Regions from separate parts of the Homo sapiens genome. Here region 1 is linked to region 2. The links are contacts of gene promoters, found by promoter capture Hi-C in human tissues and cell types (Jung and others, 2019). All regions are on one chromosome and are shown on one strand. The core of a region is centred on a gene start or on the middle of the fragment in contact, and the rest is flanking DNA. Distances in the headings are between cores, read along the strand shown. Region 1 overlaps SEPTIN6 (septin 6). Region 2 holds the start of SOWAHD (sosondowah ankyrin repeat domain family member D).

What was found. The method cuts DNA at HindIII sites, captures the fragments that hold promoters and counts their contacts. A contact is called where the count stands out against the background at its distance.
Region 1: a fragment that was not itself captured here is called in contact with the fragment with the promoter of SOWAHD in region 2 in 3 of the 25 tissues and cell types used here (lymphoblastoid cells, mesenchymal stem cells and pancreas).

Annotation. Positions count from the first base shown.
Region 1 is chrX:119,652,624-119,659,380 of GRCh38, forward strand. It overlaps SEPTIN6 (septin 6), which reads right to left. Exons shown (of 11, transcript NM_145799.4): 4 at 231-417. Among named protein-coding and RNA genes, the nearest start is that of MIR766, 9.2 kb to the left of the region's middle. RefSeq lists an enhancer at 2,858-2,907. The HindIII fragment of the contact is 5,028 bases long and covers 2,422-6,757 here.
Region 2 is chrX:119,753,828-119,760,431 of GRCh38, forward strand. It overlaps SOWAHD (sosondowah ankyrin repeat domain family member D), which reads left to right and starts at 4,761. Exons shown (of 1, transcript NM_001105576.3): 1 at 4,761-6,375. The coding sequence starts at 4,841. The coding sequence ends at 5,788. RefSeq lists enhancers at 2,285-2,344, 2,355-2,554 and silencers at 4,511-4,660, 4,771-5,070. The HindIII fragment of the contact is 4,543 bases long and covers 3,704-6,604 here.

The DNA of each region.
Region 1 (6,757 bases), core at 3,686-6,185, 100 kb before region 2:
GAGGGATCAGGGCAGAAAGACAGCTCAGGGCAAGCCCATCCCTAGTGCTGGGAAAACAGATCACAAAGCTTACGACGCTGGTGCTGGATCCGTAACACCATCTTTATGGAGGGACAGGGAATGAGGGAGAGGATGAGGATGCCACAAATCTCTCCCGGAATCCCACATCTACTTTGCACAAGAGATCAGTAAGAGTGAGCCCCCAGCGCCCCCGCCCCTGCCTCCTATACCTTACTGTCCAGCTTCTTCATAGTCACTAGGTCCAGAGACTTCAGGGAATGACCCGTGGGGGCAATGAAATACAAGCAGACATGGATTCGGGAGTCATGGTAGGTGTGTAGCACTCTTCGGATCTTTAGCTCTTCCTGCAGGTAGGCCTCGAATTGTGCATCGATGAATTCCACGATAGGCTTGTAGCTAAAAGGGAGAGCAGGGACAGAGGCGGATCCCGTCAAAAACTTGGATTTTGACACCGTCCTTTTTGGAAGTTTCAAATGCCCTCTGTAATCTTGACTCTCTCCCATCCAACTGCATTTCTCCATCTCCCTTCAGTGGGCCTCCAATCTTGTCAGCCTGGCCACCTTCTTGGTCCCTACATGAGCCAAACTTATGCCCATCTGTGCACCTTCACTAGAATGCCCCTTTCTCTCTCCTCATCCCAATTCTGCCCTCCCAGACCTCAGGGCTCAGCTTAATGTCCTCCTCCTTCCTACGGCCTTCCCCACTTATGCCAGAAATCCCTTCTGCGAGTCAGGGGCATAACAAGAAATGGCATTCAATTACTTATTGTTGCTTCACAAGGATTCTCTCAAATAGATTGTGCCTTCCTAAAGAGCAGGGCCTGTGAAGGGCACTTGTCTGTCCCTCGGGGGGCCCCAACACAGCATGGAGCCCACTGGCTGTATCTGTAGAGGGACTGATTTTCCTCCAAGCTGGGCTCATGTCTTTGCTCCCTTTATCTCGCCCTACAGTGCCTAGATGAGAGCTGGGTACACAGTGGGTAACAAGACCTCTCTTTGGCCCACTGCTGGGCAATCTTGTGAGAACATTCAGGGCTTTTGCTCATTCTCGCTAGGTTTAGCGGAGCTCCACACTTGGCTCCCCCAAGGTCAAGATATTTTTCTGATTCTCATTTCTGCCAAGGTGGTGACTTTAAGTATTCAGGCCAGGCACAGTGGATCATGGCTCGTAATCCCAGCACTTTGGGAGGCTGAGACGGGCGGATCTTCTGAGCTCAGGATTCGAGACCAGCCTGGGCAACACGGCAAAACTTCGTCTCTACTAAAAATACAAAAATTAGCCAGCTGTGGTAGCTCATGCCTGTAATCCCAGCTACTCAGGAGGCTGAGGCAGGAGAATCGCTTGAACCCGGAAGGCAGAGGTTGCAGTGAGTGGAGATCATGCCACTGCACTCCAGCCTGGGCAACAGAGTGAGACCCCATCTCCAAAAACAAACAAACAAACAAACAAAGTATTCAGGCAAAATCTGGTAAAGCTACTCCCCTCCGCACACCCTGCACACATGGACACAGGCCCGCCAGCTCACTGAGTCTCCACACGCGGCTCCTCTAGGTGGCCCCCAAGTCTTGCCAAGGCTTCTTAAACAACAGTCAGCCCTCTATGTCTCTCTTTCCTGGGCCTCCCTGGGAAACTTCCCTCTCCCTCTGTCCCAGTCCCCTCCCACGTCATCCCCGTCACCCCTACGGCCTCTTTCTGCTCTAACTAGGTCAGCTTAGCTCAGCTCTGCCTCTTGTTCTCATCTCCCCTGTCTGTCTGCTGCCTCTCTGGCTGAGGGGGTGCCTCCCTTCAGGCTAGAAGAGGCTTGTCATGTGGGCCCAGGGCAGGGAGTTTTCAGATACCGCTGCCAGAAGGGAACATGATGATCAAAGGAGGAGCTGAGCCCAGCCAATGCCTCCCACCTGCAGCAGCTCCCAGGCTGAGCCTTTCTGAAAGATCCCCCTAGTAGAGAAGGGGAAAATAGCCTTTTAAGAAAGAATCACAGGATCCTAGATTCTGAGAGCTGCAGCCAGAGCTGAGATCCAGGTGCAGGCTATCTCTGGAGCCCCAGAGAAAAATCTTTTTTTTTAAGATGGAGTTTCGCTCTGTTGCCCGGGCAGGAGTGCAGTGGTGCGATCTCCACTCACTGCAACCTCTGCCTCCCAAGCCCCAGAGAAAACTCTAAAAACATAGTCCTTTCTTTATTCCTTTGATCCCTCCGAGCCACTGTTCCGAAGGGTAATCGCATCAAAGAATCTCTTGGTTGCAAAGATCCTTAGAAGGTTCCTGACGAATTTGGAGTGAGGGTGGGGAATGTATCCCCTAGGCTTATTTAATTAATTTTTGGATGTTTTGCTGATTTGAAATAGTTGATGATGGCACTGCTTCATTTTTTTTCTCAATTACGTAATTTTTTTTTACTTCATTTTTTGCTTTGCAGAAGGAATCAGAGGAAAGAAAATAAAGCTAAAAAGTGCATTTTTTAGCTCCCCCACACACCCCGAAATCTGTAGTGATACCCTGTGCCTGTCTTACTGCAATTGCCTCTGGCTCTCGGAAGCTCTCAAGATGTACATGGATCAGACCAGCCAAACCAGCCAATCAGCCACCAGGATTTGGTGTAGACGAATCCTAAATGGGTGGCTTATCTTCGTCTTATTCATCTCTGTATCCTCCACGTCTAGCCTGCTGTCTGGAACATAGTAAAGTTTCCGCTACTGCTCTGCATTCCCTCCACCCCCAGGCCCCAGTGACTCATCTTCCCACGGTGGCCACCTCTCTCCCACACTCTGTTGTGCTGCTCACTGGACTCCAGTGGGTGGTAAACAAAATCCTTTACTCTTATAGGCTACCTCCTCCCAAACTGCTTCCTTCCTCTAAGTGACACCTGACTATCCTTCAGAGATGCTGCTTTTCTCATATCCTTCTCAACTGGAAATTTCTTCATCTCCACACCCAAGTCCCATGGAAGGGCAGAGAGGGCAGCTTTCTTCTAGCTCTTGATTCCCTCGCTCACTGTGATCTCCTCATCTCCTCCATTTTCGACCAAAACCAGCTCCAACAGACTCCATCCCTCCCCATCACTACTGATAATCTTTGACATTTCAAGACAGCCGTTCTTAACACAGGGTTCATGGACCTCCTAGGTTCTGTGAATAGAATTCAGAGGATCTGTGAACTTAGATAGGAAAAAAATACATCTTTTTCACTAATCTCTAACTGAAGTTTAGCAGTTTCTTCAGCTGCAGACATAGGTAACAATCTATAGTAATGTTAGCAGTACCTGTGATTTCATAACCAATAGAAATCACTGATATCATCATTTCCCATTCCAGTTGTTGTAAATAGCTCAAAATAGCATTTATACTCATTACAACATTCAAATTCTGGTAATTATTAAGCCTGCATATAGATATTATTACTTCTGGAATTGATAGAGAAGCACATGGATTGCTAAGTCACAATTTTTAAATATTTTAGTAACTGTATTTTTAGTATACTTGGTATATTTTAGGCATTTAAAAACATTATTTTGAGAATGAGCCCATAGGCCTCACTAGATTGCTAACGGGGCCAATGGCACAAAATAACCCCTGGTCTAGACAATAATACTTATTCATTTCGGATAATGATATGTACTATGAAGATACTCCAATAGGATAATGGGATATACATGTGATTGAGGGTTCAACTACTTTAAATACAGTGATCAGGGAAGGCTTCTCTAAGGGTGTGACATTTGAGCCGCAAGGATGAGGATGACAGAGCCATGGAGAGATCTGGGTGAAGAGCATTCCAGGCAGTGGGAATAATAAATGTGAGGATGGTTCTGAGGCAGAAACCAGTCTGACAGGTTTGAGCAATGGGAAGACGGCCAGGGAGGTGGGACTTGGTGAACCCAGCTTGAGTAAATTATTCACAGTAGCCCAAAGGTGGAAACAACCCAAATGTCCATCAACTGATGACCGGATAAAGAAAATGTGGAGGCCAGGCGCAGTGGCTCACGCCTGTAATCCCAGCACTTTGGGAGACCAAGGTGGGCGGATCACGAGGTCAGGAGTTCGAGACCAGCCTGATCAACAGGGTGAAACCCCGTCTCTACTAAAAATATAATAATTAGCTGGGCATGGTGGCGTGCGCCTGTAATCCCAGCTACTCAGAAGGCTGAGGCAGGAGAATTGCTTGAACCGAGGAGGCGGAGGTTGCGGTGAGCCAAGATTGAGGCACTGCACTCCAGCCTGGGCGACAGAGTGAGACTCCGTCTCAAAAAATAATTAAATAAATAAAATAAAATAAAGAAAATGTGAAAATGTGGAGGCCAGGTGGGGTGGCTCACACCCATAATCTCAGCACTTTGGGAGGCCGAGGCAGGCGGATTACCTGAGGTCAGGAGTTCGAGACCAGCCCTGCCAACACAGTGAAACCCCGTCTCTACTAAAAATACAAAAATTAGCCAGGCATGGTGGTAGGCACCTGTAGTCCCAGCTACTCGGGAGGCTGAGGCAGGAGAATTGCTTGAACCTGGGAGGCGGAGGTTGCAGTGAGCCGAGATCGCACCACTGCACTCCAGCCTGGGCAACGGAGTGAGATTCCGTCTCAAAAAAAAAAAAAACAAAACAAAAAAACTGTGCCTTATTTCTTAGTATCTCTGACACTTCACACTGTACTTGTCACATAGTAGACATTTAAGTTTATAAAGTGGACTAGGTTTCCACGGCAACTTGGTTCTCAGTCTTGTCAATTCTCTCAAATCTGCCCCTCCTCTCTATCCTCAAAGCTTCTCTTCCTGTTCAAGCCCTCATCATCTCTCCCATCCTCAAGAGTTGCCCCTGACCTCCTTGTCCCCCTCTAGACATGGCCTTGTGTATTTCTCCCAGCTCAGACAAGCTTTCTTTTTTATCTATTTTTTAGAGACGAGGCCTCGCTCTATTGCCCATGCTGGAGAACAATGGCATGATCATAGCTCACTGTGACCTCGAACTCATGAGCTCAAGCGATTCTCCTGCCTCAGCCTTCTGAGTATCTGGGACTACAGGCACACACCACCACACCTGGCTAATTTTTTATTTTTGTGTAGAGACGGGGTCTCTTTATGTTATCCAGGCTGGTCCTGAACTTTTGGGCTCAAGTGATCCTTCTACCTTGGCCCCACAAAGTGTTGGGATTAGAGGTAAGAGCCACCGCGCTTAACCTAAATTTATTTATGCAAGAACACCTATTCTCGACCGGGTGCGGTGGCTCACGCCTGTAATCCCAGCACTTTGGGAGGCCGAGGCAGGCGGATCATGAGGTCAGGAAATCAAGACCATCCTGGCTAACACGGTGAAACCCCGTCTCTACTAAAAATACAAAAAAAATTAGCCGGGCGTGGTGGTGGGCGCCTGTAGTCCCAGCTACTCGGGCGGCTGAGGCAGGAGAATGGCGTGAACCCGGGAGGCGGAGCTTGCAGTAAGCCGAGATAGCGCCACTGCACTCCCGTCTGGGCAACAGTGCGAAAGTCCGTCTCAAAAAAATAAAAAAGAATACCGATTCTTCCTTCCTCACAGATAACCTCTATTTTCAGTTTGCTGATTATCTTTCCAGACCTTTTTCTATGCATCTACGCACATAAATAGAGAGAAATATTTGTGGTTTTATTGGAGGGAGGGGGGCAGATTTACAGACACCGCATCGTGATCATTCTGCAACTTCTTTTTTTCACTTAACAACATATCCTGAGATCTAGCCATGTGAGTATATATCGATCTACCTCATTCTATTAAACTGCCAAACACAATTCCATGGTATGGTAATTCCACAGTTTATTTAATTGCTCTGTTGGTAGAAATTTAGACTGTTTAAATTGTTTTTCATTCAATAACCAAAGCTACAGTGAACATGCTTTCTCTATGCTTCTCAGGAGCATGTGCAACTGTTTCTCTAGGCTGTATACTTAAAAGGTGGAACTGCTGGGTCATAAATTATTCACATTTAAAATTTTAATAGATACTGCCAAATTTGCCCTCCAAGAAGTCTATATCAATTTACAGTCCCATCAACGTGAATGAAATTACCTCGTGTTAGTGGATATTATACCATCCTTTTGTTTTTGCAGATCTGATGGATAAAAAATATTTGTTTCATTTTGCATTTCTTTAATTACTGGGGAAGTTGAATGACCATCATTTCATATGTTGATTGTACATAAGTATTTCCCCTTCTGTAAATTATTTGTTTATTTCTCATTGAATTGTAGAAGCTCTTTTTCCATTTTAGAAGAATCCTTTGTCTGTTATTTAGGCAGCAAATATCTTCTCCCCATCTGTAGCTTGTTTGTACTTTTGTTTATGGTATCTTTCAATACAAAAGGGTTTTTTATTTTAATGAATTTAAATCCATCAGTCTTTTCTTCTATGACTTTTGAATTTTGTGTCATGATTGGAAAAGCCTTCTCTACCCCCAAAGTTATAAAAATATTCTCTGATGTTTTCTCCTTATATTTTTAGAAATCTGTTTTTAGTCCAATGGGAATCTATTTTTGTGAATGGTGTTTGTGTGAGAGGGTCTCGTTTTATTTTTTTCCTAAATAGATGGCCTATTTTCCCAGCATCATCTCCTGAATAGTCCATTCTTCCCCTGCTGACTTACATATGCTAAATTTCCATATGAGCAGGAATCTGGTCTTAGACTGACTTTTCTGTTCCATTGCTCTTTTTGCTCTTCTGATGCCTTTACATGCTTACTTTCCATTCACTCAGCAATCACGGTAATCTGGCTTCCA
Region 2 (6,604 bases), core at 3,511-6,010:
GGTTGAAACAGACACAGCCTTTCTACTTTTCTCAGTTGCTAGTTGGTCAGAGCGCCCTCATGTGTCTCCATATGGTAATACCTTAAGTCTTTTACAGGATGTGGCATTCTTTTAATCTCAGTATCAATAAAATGTGTAATGGAAATTTTTTTCTCGTCACACTTCAAAGCCCATGCTTGACTCTCAGGCTCCAATTAAGCCATTCCAGCTTGAGTTTAGGCAGGTTTCCTGCTTCCACTCAGGCCTACAGATTTCTTCCTGCTCCCTGCCCACCCCTTTCTCCTTAGTCATTTTTAGAAGCCCTGGTGTCAACTTGGTTCTACCACTTTCTACTCTTCCAAGCTCAGTAAGCTCTCAAAATAAGATTGTAAGTTCTTTTTTTAACTGGATACATCAGGTCTTACTGCAGGATTGGCGGGGGAGGGGGGTGGGAAGGTGGGGGTAATTCCAAAGTACTAGGAAATAATTTTTAAAGTGTTTACCAAATATGACTTGTTCCATAGTCTAAGGAAAAGGGATCCAAAATGAGATCTCATGTAAAGGTCTGACATTTGGGAAGGGGAAAGTGATGTTTGGCAGAGTACATACACACAGACACATACACATTATACACACAACCAGACAGTGATGTCTGGTACACATACATACCACTCAAACATCCATTCTTGCACACACATTCACATGCAAACAGAGAGAAAGGAGCTCTCTCTCTTTCATAGGTTTCTCATTGAGAATCATGATGATATCAGCACAGGTCTTTGGAGGAAAGGAAATTTACATTCTATATCTGGAACCCCAAGAATGTTCCAGCCGTGTGTGGTGGCTCACACCACCGGGTGTGGTGGGAGGCCAAGGTGGGTGGATCACTTGGGGCCAGGAGTTCGAGACCAGCCTGGCCAACATGGTAAAACCCCGTCTCTACTAAAAATACAAAATTTAGCTGAGAATGGTGGTGCACGTCTGTAATCCCAGCTACTCAGGAGGCTGAGGCATGAGAATCACTTGAACCAGAGAGGCGGAGGTTGCAGTGAGCCGAGATCACACCACACTGCACTCCAGCCTAGGCAACAGATGGGACTCCGTCTCAAAAAAAAAGAAAGAAAGAAAAAAAAAAGAATGTTCCCCATTCCCTCCATGACCGAGGGTTATGGACGCCTGAGGGACTTTACTTCCCATATTCCACACATCTGCTTCTCAACTGTTTTGCACTCATGGATTTTTCTGAATCCATAAGCCCCCGGGGCAAACTCCATTGAGAGCCCAAGGATACACCAGCATTTGGCTTCGCCCAAGGAGCATGTTTCTGAGAAGTTTCATGTAAATTAAATTTTTGCAGATCAACTATGATTTCCTACTGACATCCCCTAAGATTTCTGAGCTGCTCTCTTCATCAAGATAGATTTTCAGTGTACGCCTAACACATCAGCTTCTCTGTTCCTCTGCCTTCTGCCATGCTCCCTGAGTTAGTTAAACCTCATCTGGAAAATAAAGGCCAATGAAACATTAAGATCTCTTCTAGTTCTTTTTTTTTTTTTTTTTTTGAGACGGAGTCTCGCTCTGTCACCCACACTACAGTGCAGTGGCGTGATCTCAGCTCACTGCAAGCTCCACCTCCCGGGTTCACGCCATTCTCCTGCCTCAGCCTCCCGAGTAGCTGGGACTACCCACCACCACGGCCGGCTAAGTTTTCGTATTTTTTAGTAGAGACGGGGTTTCACCGTGTTAGCCAGGATGGTCTCGATCTCCTGACCTCGTGATCAGCCTGCCTCGGCCTCCCAAAGTATTGGGATTACAGGCATGAGCCACCGCGCCCAGCCGATCTCTTCTAGTTCTAATAGTCCAAGATCTAGTAAATAAACCCACAAATATATTAGAGAGGCTGCTATTTGGAAAAGACATCAGTATTATTACAATTTGCAATGCAAATATCTACTCTACCTCCAGCTTTTTGGGAAGTCATTTCCCAGGGCTTGAGGGGTTTTTGCCCCACTCCCTTGGAGGGGTAGCAGATGTTTCAGATAACTGGCATGTTAATTTTAGGTGGGTGGGTACTATCCCTTCTGTTTTCCACTCCCTCTGCCCTACTCCCTGCTATCAAATTCCTGAGACCCTCTCTACTAAAATAGAGATGGGTGTTGCGGTTCTGGGGAGTGGTGTGTGCAGCTGGTGACCTAGGGTAGAAAGCACTTGCTAATTAAAGATGAAACAAGTTGCTAGGGAGGCACCGTGGCTTTGGTCTCTAGCAGCAGAGTTAAGCAAGGGCACATGTATCATGGGTCTGTGGCACTGGTCAGGCGGCTGCCTTTGCAATCTTTGAACTGGAAACAGATATTATTCATGCTGATAGGGAAGAGAGTTGCCTGCTTAGTGGTGACGAAAATTAATAGTCCAAGCATTCTTCCATCCTGCATTTTCCATGCTGGCATTTTGACTTAAAAAAAAATATTGCTGCAGCTGTTTGCATATTCTGGAAGTGTGTGTGCCTGTGTGCGGTTTGGTGTTTACAGATCTGGGGTTGCGGAGAGGAGTCTCCAGAGCAACGGAAGTAGCTGCTTGTCAGTCAGGATTCATTTTGAAAATGAAAGCCTGAAAGCTTGGGGCCCATTCTGGGCCTAGGCCTGGTCTCTGAGAAGTCAGCGAAGGCCAGGAGGTGGCTTTGGCCAGTCAACTCAGTGAATAAACCACTGAATCTCTTTTAAAGAAAAATGAATTGACCAAATCTATGAGTTGCTTTTGATGTCCTGCAGATTGGAGTCTGGAGCAGGGATGTGGGAGCAGGCATTGAGGTGCTGATTGTGGATACATGTCCCCCGCCCCCAACATACACACACACAATCACATTTTCCCAGCCTGCCAAACCAGAACAAGGTAACAAATATTTCTTGGATAACTACTAGGTGCACAAGGATAGTATGACATAGCTGTCCAAGAGTTTATAGTTTAATTGGCATATGAGAGCAAGGGGAGAGAGATGTAACACAAGGCAGTCTTGGGGCCAAAGAAGTAGCAGAAACACAGGGCTGGGGAAAGAGAGGGATCACTTTGGGCTGGGATAATCAGAGGAGGCTTGCTAGAGGTGGAAACTAAGCGCAACCTTGAAAGAAAAGAACTTCACTACATAGAAGCTCTTCCAGGCAGAGGAGTGTAAGTTATAGATACGCTCACGTTACAAGTCTATCCTTTTGGCTGGAATTTGGGGCTTGTATGTGATTTGCAGTTGATAAGCCAGGCTTGAATGCCAGTTCCTGTGTACCAGAACAAAGGCTATGGTGTCGCACAGACCTGCTCTGCCACTTCCTGCTGGGTGACCTTGAGCAAGTAGCCTAACCTCTCTGCAAACTGGGGACAGTAATGATTCCCAGCACTTGAGGTCACTGGGAGGATTAAAAGAGTTAACATATATAACGCAACAAGCACAGTGCCTGGCACATAGTAAATGTTCAAAACCAAATTACAAATGCATAAACTGTTCTGAAGGAAAGCTCTAGATATTTAGGACTTGTTCCAAATACGTGAGGGCCAAGGAAGAAAAGCTTCCGATACCTTCTATCACTGCTGCCACAGGTGGCCCCGAGGGAGTGGGCTGATTTGGCCTGAGCCTCCATCCCCCTTGGCCTAGACTGCTGGAACAGTCTTCCGACTTCCTGCCTCTGCACCTCCCAAATCACCTTTTTAACACAACCTCCATCATGGCTGTGTCTCTCCCCGGCTCAACAATCTTCTATGGCTCCCCGTTGCTCACTGACTGAGCTCCTTAAGATGCTGGGGGTGTGGAGGCAAGAACCACTATTTACTAAGGGAAGGGAAGAGCAAAGAGTACGCTGGTATTAGGAGTGAAAAAGAAAAAATATCCTTTTTTAAAAAGCCCCTAAGCTTTGAATTTGTAGAAAGCGGGGCCCTGGGGAGAGAGCAGGGATGCATCTCTAAAGAGAACAGGGCGCTCCTGCGGCGCCGGCTCAGATTCACCTGTAGCTGCTTCTCCAAGCCAACCTGGGAAAATTGACGGGAGGGAAGAGGGTGGAGAGCAGGACAGAGAGGGCGGTGCAGAAGGGGAATATCCCTCCTGAGTTCCCTGGAAGAGCGTCAGCCTGGACCCTGGTCTTGGGCTTCTCTGCTGGAATCCTGGGCAGCCCCGGGTGCTGCGGCGAGGGTCAAGGCCACACAAAGGGCAAGGCAGGCAGACGAGCCAGTCACATGGGGCAGTCGAGCTGCCTGCGTGAATGCTAGGCGCGGGACAATGGCAACTCCGGGACAAAGTGCAGGGAGACTCCTGAAGAGATAAGAGGGAAGGGCGAAGGAAGGGGGCGGGGAGCCAGAGCCTCGGAGCTCCAGGACCGCGCTTTGGGAGACCGTGGCTGGAAGCCGAGCTCGGCCCGCTGCGGAAGGGGCGCCCTCGCGCCTCTACACTCTAGCCCCGGCTGGGATGCTGAGAACCGCGGCTTCCAGGGCCGCAGGCGAGCTCCCAGCCAGTCCCCGCGCCCGCCCTTCGGTGCTGGAGGCGGGGCTGCCGAGCTCACCTGGCCGTTTGGGGTGGGACCGCCCGCGACCCGGGGGAGCTGCAGAGGCGGCGGTACCCAGGGAAGTGGAGCTGGGCTTGCCCTGGGGACTTGGCTGGAGCTCACACCCCTCCACGCCCCCCAAGGCCTGCGCGGGGGCCCTCCCCTAGCTCCCTCCCTCCTCCTCCTCCTCCTCCTCCTCCTCTCCTTTGCTCCCTCCCTCCGAACCCAATTGCTCAAGCAGCTTCCTTCCCCAACGCCAGCGCCAGTTCCTCTCCCGTTGGGGCCCGGGAAGGGCAGCTAACGCTGGACACTGGGACGGCCGCGGCGGCAGCTTCAAGACCATGGCCCAGCTCGGAGGGGCCGCGAACCGGGCACCCACGGCCTCTCTCGCGCCGACCTCGCAGAGCCTGCGGTGCGCCCCGCAGCCCCGCCCCTCGAGAGCGGACACTGGTAGCCTGGGCAGGTACTGGGGCAAAGCCGCAGCCGCCGCCTCCCGGGAGCACCCCTTCCCAGGCACGCTGATGCACTCTGCAGCGGGCTCAGGGCGCCGGCGGGGAGCGCTGCGGGAACTGCTGGGGCTGCAGCGGGCGGCTCCTGCGGGGTGGCTGTCGGAGGAGCGCGCCGAGGAGCTGGGCGGGCCGAGTGGGCCGGGCAGCAGCAGGCTGTGCCTGGAACCGCGGGAGCACGCGTGGATTCTGGCAGCCGCCGAGGGCCGCTATGAGGTGCTGCGGGAGCTGCTGGAGGCTGAGCCGGAGCTGCTGCTGCGGGGCGACCCGATCACCGGCTACTCGGTTCTGCACTGGCTGGCCAAGCACGGGCGCCACGAGGAGCTCATTCTGGTACACGATTTCGCCCTACGCCGGGGGCTGAGGCTCGACGTGAGCGCCCCAGGCAGCGGCGGCCTCACGCCCCTCCACCTGGCGGCCCTTCAGGGCCACGACATGGTCATCAAGGTGCTGGTGGGCGCCCTGGGTGCTGACGCTACGCGCCGCGACCACAGCGGCCACCGGGCCTGCCACTACCTGCGGCCCGACGCGCCTTGGAGGTTGCGGGAGCTGTCGGGAGCCGAGGAATGGGAGATGGAGAGCGGCAGCGGGTGCACCAACCTGAACAACAACAGCAGTGGCACCACTGCGTGGAGGGCCGCGAGCGCAGTGGGCGCGACGGCTGTGGAGACAAGCAGGAGAGTGGCAGCGTCGCGGACCAAGGCGAAGGACACCGCGGGCAGCCGGGTGGCGCAAATGCATAGCCTTTTCCGCCATCTGTTCCCCTCATTCCAGGACCGTTGACAGGGACAGAGACTGGAGAGCTAGGAGGGGCTGTGACACTGTGGCGATGGCTAGGTCCTGGGTTGTCCCGGGTTCCACCGAAGGAGAGGCGCCTTGGACGCTGCTTGGGCCTGCAAGGAACAGAACACGTCGGGGTCCGACTCAGGTACTTGTCTCAGGTCTCCTGTAACCACCGGCCTGGAGGACCCGGGGACTCGGGCACCACCTCACCAAGAGAGAGTGAAGGACCAAGCTGGCCTGGCTCCGAGTTCCAAAGCTACAGGACTAAGGAGTTGGGAGCAGGGAGCGTGGTCCTGCTTGGGAGAGGGCAAGTTAAGCTTCCAGGGGCCATTTCTGGGCAGGCCGACGCGCTGGGTTTATTAGGAAACATTCGCTAGAAGAATGAGTTAAGATTGTAAACCACCAATGCAGAGAAAACGCCTAACTCTGCCGGCCTCGCTCGGCCATTAATGGGTCTTGGGGTGCGGGTAGAGTCAGCCTCTGACAACCTCCTCCTGAGACGACCCAGCCTTACTGGTACTTTTTCTCATGTATCACAGGTTACTTCTTATGTATATTAAAGTGGAATATGTGTTCTTTTCACATGACAAGGCTGTCCTTTCAGTGTTTTCCCCCACCTCCCTTACTAACCACAAAGGAAGAAACTGCATATGTTTGCAGGGTAGAGGTCACCCAACCATGGCCGTGATGTTGTGCCCCCCGGGGCAGGCTCTGGGCCTCCTTCTCAGAACAAATGGCCAGAGCTGTGCACAGAAGAAGCTACTTCCACTTGGATCTGAGGAGAAACATACAGTTCACCTCTGTCCTGAGCTCTTT